2 separate regions of the Homo sapiens genome follow, and region 1 is linked to region 2. Evidence: promoter capture Hi-C in human tissues and cell types (Jung and others, 2019). All regions are on one chromosome and are shown on one strand. Each heading gives the region's core, a stretch centred on a gene start or on the middle of the fragment in contact. The rest is flanking DNA. Distances are from core to core; before and after follow the strand shown.

Region 1 (2,822 bases), core at 176-2,675, 550 kb after region 2:
CACTTGGGCTGTTCCACACAGAGGCTGGCACATTGTGAGCACTCAATAACTGCTAATTGGTACAATTATAATGTTAAATTTCAAGCACTATTTTTGTCTCAGAAGACGGCACACTAATTACCACAGGCCCATTTTCTTCAGCAACAGTGACACATTTTGCTCTACTAGTCTCCCTTTTAACAAATGTTTTGCAAATTTATGAGACAGTTGGAAACTGTCATTATTGTGGTAAAATGAATTTAGATTTGGAACTGCCTTCCACCATTTGTGACTAAGAATGATAAAAACTCATCCTGAAAATTAGGAAAAACTGTATCGTATTTTCTTAAGAAAATTTGAAAATTAATAGATTTTCCAGGATTGTGTTTTATATAAAATGAAGCTTAACATTTTGTATACCCATAAGAAGCCATATAGCAGATGTGTCTGTTTTATAACTAATCTGCTATTGCCAATTATTCAGCAGAACAATAAAGCCAAAAGAACAAATTGATCATAATACAATAGATTATAATCATACTGCCATAAACATTGTTGTGAAGAAAATTTAAAAATTAAAGAGATGTTACTATCTTATTTGTTGTACATAATAACTGTTTTGCTATTCAAAATCTCTTATAAAACAAACCATGGAATTAAAAATGATATGAAAATCAGGCCAGGCTCAGCGGCTCACGCCTGTAAGCACTTTGGGAGGCCGAGGCAGGTGGATCACCTGAGGTCAGGAGTTCAAGACCAGCCTGACCAACATGGTGAAATCCTGTCTCTGCTAAAAAATAAAAATAAAAATAAATTAGCCAGGCATGGTGGCACATGCCTGTAATCCCAGCTACTCAGGAGGCTGAGACACGAGAATCACTTGAACCCGGGAGGTGGAGGTTGCAGTGAGCTGAGATTGCGTCATTGCACTCCAGCCTGGGTAACAAGAGCGAAACTCCGTCTCAAAAATAAATAAATAAATAAATAAATAAATACAAAAGAAAAGAATATCTACGCTTAAATTTGACAACCAGGTAGAGTCAGTGATTCTATCAAATATGAATACAGATAATTCTTCAACTTAATACTATTACTTCAAATACGGTATCATTCCCCAAACTTGATACTAGCTACCTTTCCAAACACCACAAGGCATACAACTCTTTGAATGACTTTAGGATAATACTCCTTAAAAATACACATACATAAAAAACAAAGCAGTGACTAACTCTGCCTGCAATTGTCTTCATACCTCCTACTACATGACTCTTTTGCATAGGTTCCCTATCTATTCTCTCCTCCACCTTCAAATGTCCTTCTACCTCACCTCAACTTTGAAATGATCACCTCTTCTATGAATTATTTGTGATATTAATATGGCACCATCTCTTTATGTCTCCATGCTTTTCTGGGATCTTCTTTAAGGCAAAAGCCTATTTTTGTTTTTCATTCCCCACAATACTTAGTTGATAGTCAACAGTGTTTTATGAATGAACAATGAATGAGTGAATAAAATATAGTATAAGAATCTGTTTCATCCAAATGTGGGTAAAGGCAAGTTATGATAAAACTGACTCTAATTATGCATAAACTTTTAAAACTCTTATATGTCCTTTGATGTTCTAGAATTTATGTCTTCTCCTTGAAAGTAGGTAGACATTTATTTTTTTAGAATGGGGATGTTTTGTGGACCTGTCTTGCAAATCAATATCAGATTTCATATTGTTCCTCATCATCTAGCTTATGGCAATACTGCAAAGATCATAGAAAAAAACTGCCATAAAGTCATCACAATGCATTAATATTTCTAACAGCAATTATATTCAAAACAATTTGGAAAGGTATAAAAAGAGCACTCAAAATGATTTTGTCATTAGTTTTGAGCTACAAACTAAAATAAAGCCTCTGAAGAAAAGATTATGCAACAATTCATGAAATAAGAGGCTTTCTGTTATTAACACAAACATACTTAGCATACAGTAATACAAGTAAAAAATCATTTTTTGTTCTTTTGATGTTAGGATGGTGTAAAGAAGAGAAGTGGCAAGAACTTTTAGTATCATTAAATTAGGAAAGCATGGTTTTCTACCATTTTATATAACTAAATCTTCAAGGCACAAGGTTCAAATTCTTGTTCAGAAAAATATTGGAAATCTTCTGCTTTCAGTCTTCCAGTGTGAGGTTAATTTTCCTAGATAGTGATGTTAGTCATTATGGGAGTGGTTTGGAAAAACATCTTTATTCAGGTTACAGTTGTTATTTTTTTTTCTAGGCTTTTATAATCTTTGACCTGCCGGCAATATGCTGTGTTTGACATAATGTGTTAACTTAAAAATAAAAAAAAAATTCTACCTGTCTAACACTGACAAGTATTCACTGAGTTGGCTGATAATATTCATTTCCAATGATTTTTGAAATTTCTTTGTCAAATGGTATTTTTGCAATATTTGTATTAACTTGCAAAGTAAACTTGAGTGACTGTCCAGAAGGCCTTTAATAATGCGAGATTCCATAAAACCTTAAGATTAGTTATTTTTTCTTCATTATTCAAAAGCAAAATATTGTCAAATAGCCACAGCAGATTTTCCAGGTAGGTTGTTCAGTTATTTGGGGTTGCTATTTGGGCAGTAATGTGCCAAAACCTAAACCTACCTTTCACTGTCATCAGGTCTGCTACCAGACAGAGGAAAGACAAAGGAAAAACGGAAAATGTTTCTGGATCTTTGATTAAAATATAGATTTCAAAATATCCTCTAAAATGTTAATAGCATATATAAGTGATATGGTTTGACTGTGTCCCCACCCAAATCTCAACTTGAATTGTATCTCCCAGAAATCTCTCG
Region 2 (2,882 bases), core at 207-2,706:
GATCCGTAGGATGTCCCCCGGGTTTGGGGCGCGCCCCGAGGCGCAGACCCTCTTTGGCGACTCCACACAATATGCAGCCCGCCTGCAAGCAGCCGCTGCAGCCGAGGGGCGCGCCTGGCTGATGTGTGGTTGAATGGAGAGCGGCCCAACCCTCCTCCTTCCTCCTCTTCTTCTCCCCGCCCTGACACCCGGGCCTCAAACTTCAACCAAAGCCCGTGCCCTTTTCAATTTACCCCCCTCGATCAAAATGAGCCATTCTTGTCTGTCCTCCGCGGCGGCCCATTGTCTGGCGTGATAGGTTTGCAGATTTGACAGCTGGGCGCACGCAGATTTGATTCAAACTCGGTCTCCCCGAGAGATGAACTTGGACATCAGCAAAGATCCCGAGCACTGCCGGCTGGCTCCTAGACCGGTCTCCCGACCCAGTGTAGACTTCGGTGCCCCGGGCGCCCCCCGGCGTGCGGGAAGGGGAGCGTGTGTCAGGCGTGGGGGGCGGGGGGTGAGCAGCACGACTGGGAACCAGCGGTCCCAGGGGTTGGGGCGAAGGGCTGTGTACATGTTAGGCTTTTTTTGTTGTTGTTAATTTACTCTCGAAACAGCCAAAATGGAGGTCAGCTTATAAATTTTCTAAAGCCAGGTCTGGCCGGGTTTAAATGCAGTGGGCTGGGGGCTCCGCTTTTGTCTCCTTGTCGGAGCTCCAGGAGAGAGGTAGAGACTGCGTGTGCATGTGTGCGTGTGAGTGTGAGTGTGCACGCGCTGGCGTGGACGAACGGATGGGCGCATCCCAGGATCGCCGCTCCAGCGTCCTGGGTCTGAGTGTGTCTTGAAAGCACCAAGTCTTGAATCACAGCCACTAGTGACGTGGGGGAAAACTTTGTGTTCCGAAGAAGGGTCTGGCTCGATTGCCCTAAGAAGAAAGAGCCCTTGTGCCCGTGTATGTGTGTGTGTGTGTCTGTGTGTGTGTGTGAGAGAGAGAGAGAGAGAGAGAGACAGAGAGAGAGAGAGAGAGAGAGAGTGTGTGTGTCTGGCAGCACCCGCGGCCGGCTGCAGAACACTGCGTGTCCTGTGCGCGAGTACGGGTCCGGCCGCGGGTCCCACCGCAAGCGGGCGTGTGCAGCTGCGGCTGCCTGGCGGGCGAGCTTAGGAGGGAGCTGGAGCTGCGGAGCGGCGGGAACAGGAGCAGGCCGAGGGTCCTCTGGCCAGAAGAAATCTGGCCTCGGAACACGCCATTCTCCGCGCCGCTTCCAATAACCACTAACATCCCTAACGAGCATCCGAGCCGAGGGCTCTGCTCGGAAATCGTCCTGGCCCAACTCGGCCCTTCGAGCTCTCGAAGATTACCGCATCTATTTTTTTTTCTTTTTTTTCTTTTCCTAGCGCAGATAAAGTGAGCCCGGAAAGGGAAGGAGGGGGCGGGGACACCATTGCCCTGAAAGAATAAATAAGTAAATAAACAAACTGGCTCCTCGCCGCAGCTGGACGCGGTCGGTTGAGTCCAGGTTGGTGGCATTTGGAGTTTTTTTCGTTCTGTTTGGGAACCCATTGCCGCTTCCCGTCCCTCTTCCCCACTCCTTCTTCCCCCCTCCTCCGGCCACCCCTTTCTTTTTGCTGGCGTCTCCCAACTTTAGGGCCCGGGGGGCGCTCGTGGCGCCGGGCTGCACCTGCCGGGGCACGCCGGGACTGCGGGCCGGCGCGCTCGCCCTGGGCTGGGGTGCGGAAGCGCCCGAGTCCTGGGCACCGGGCGAGAGTGTGAGAGGAGCGGACGCCCAGGAGGGAGCCGAGGACGCGCGGCGGGTAGGGGGTAGGGGCGCAGGAACCGGGTTTCAGCCCCAGTCGGGACATCGGTTCCCCCTGGCTTGGCGGCCTCTGGAGGGAGACGAGTCCCGGGGAGAAGGAGGGCGGCGACTGGGGCTAGGGATTGGCGATCGGAGTGGGGAGGGCCGGCGGCTGAGCGAGCTCGCTGGCTGACGCGAGGAGGGGGAGGCCAACTTCCCGGGAGAAGGGGCTCTTTCGGCGCCAGGGCTGGCTAGGGAGCTGCCGCCGCCGCCACCGAGGGCTCGGACTCCAGGCAGCTGCAGGCTCCGCTCGCGACGCTCGGAAAGTACCGTTTATTTATTTATTTGCTTGCGTTCAGCGTCTCGGGTTGAACCCAACAGACACCCCCTTGGACTTTAGGAACCCTCTTCAGACCTCTCCAGCCCTCACCTCCATCCCCGTGTCAGCGGCCCCTGGAAAACACGCACATGCACCCCGACCTGGGTGGGGGTGGGTCCTCACCCCGGTGTTGGAAATTCCCCAAAGGCGGGAACGGGGGAGGGGAGAGGGTTCTGTGGGGGGAGTCTCCGGCGCTCTCCGCTCTCATCTCAAAGCGCGCCCTCCCTTCCAGGTTGGGTCGGACCTGAACCCCTAAAAGCGGAACCGCCTCCCGCCCTCGCCATCCCGGAGCTGAGTCGCCGGCGGCGGTGGCTGCTGCCAGACCCGGAGTTTCCTCTTTCACTGGATGGAGCTGAACTTTGGGCGGCCAGAGCAGCACAGCTGTCCGGGGATCGCTGCACGCTGAGCTCCCTCGGCAAGACCCAGCGGCGGCTCGGGATTTTTTTGGGGGGGCGGGGACCAGCCCCGCGCCGGCACCATGTTCCTGGCGACCCTGTACTTCGCGCTGCCGCTCTTGGGTAAGTCGAGGCCCGCCGCGGGCTTTCTTACCCTCTGAGTCTTTCCTAGGGTCGCTTGCAGCAGCCCACCCCGCCCTCCGCACCAAAATTGGGGCGCGGGTGTGGTGGATGTGGAAGGAAGAAGTGTCTTTTTGGGGAATGGGATCGCGAATCCCCGGGTTAGGGAGGCGGTGGCGGCGCGGCGCTGCCTGAAGCTTTTCGGGCTTGGTT

Evidence for each region. Contacts are between HindIII fragments. The study calls those that stand out against the background at their distance.
Region 1: a fragment that was not itself captured here is called in contact with the fragment with the promoter of GFRA1 in region 2 in 4 of the 25 tissues and cell types used here (aorta, hippocampus, mesenchymal stem cells and 1 more).

What each region holds. Positions count from the first base shown.
Region 1 is chr10:115,721,687-115,724,508 of GRCh38, reverse strand. All of the region lies in intron 26 of ATRNL1 (attractin like 1), which reads right to left. Among named protein-coding and RNA genes, the nearest start is that of SNORD158, 470 kb to the left of the region's middle. The HindIII fragment of the contact is 5,017 bases long and covers 1-2,822 here.
Region 2 is chr10:116,271,780-116,274,661 of GRCh38, reverse strand. GFRA1 (GDNF family receptor alpha 1) reads left to right here and starts at 1,456. Exons shown (of 11, transcript NM_005264.8): 1 at 1,456-1,499; 2 at 2,387-2,672. The coding sequence starts at 2,633. LOC107984273 (a long non-coding RNA gene) reads right to left here and starts at 653. Exons shown (of 2, transcript XR_001747598.2): 1 at 1-653. RefSeq lists a silencer at 951-1,245 and an enhancer at 454-1,291. The HindIII fragment of the contact is 12,805 bases long and covers 1-2,882 here.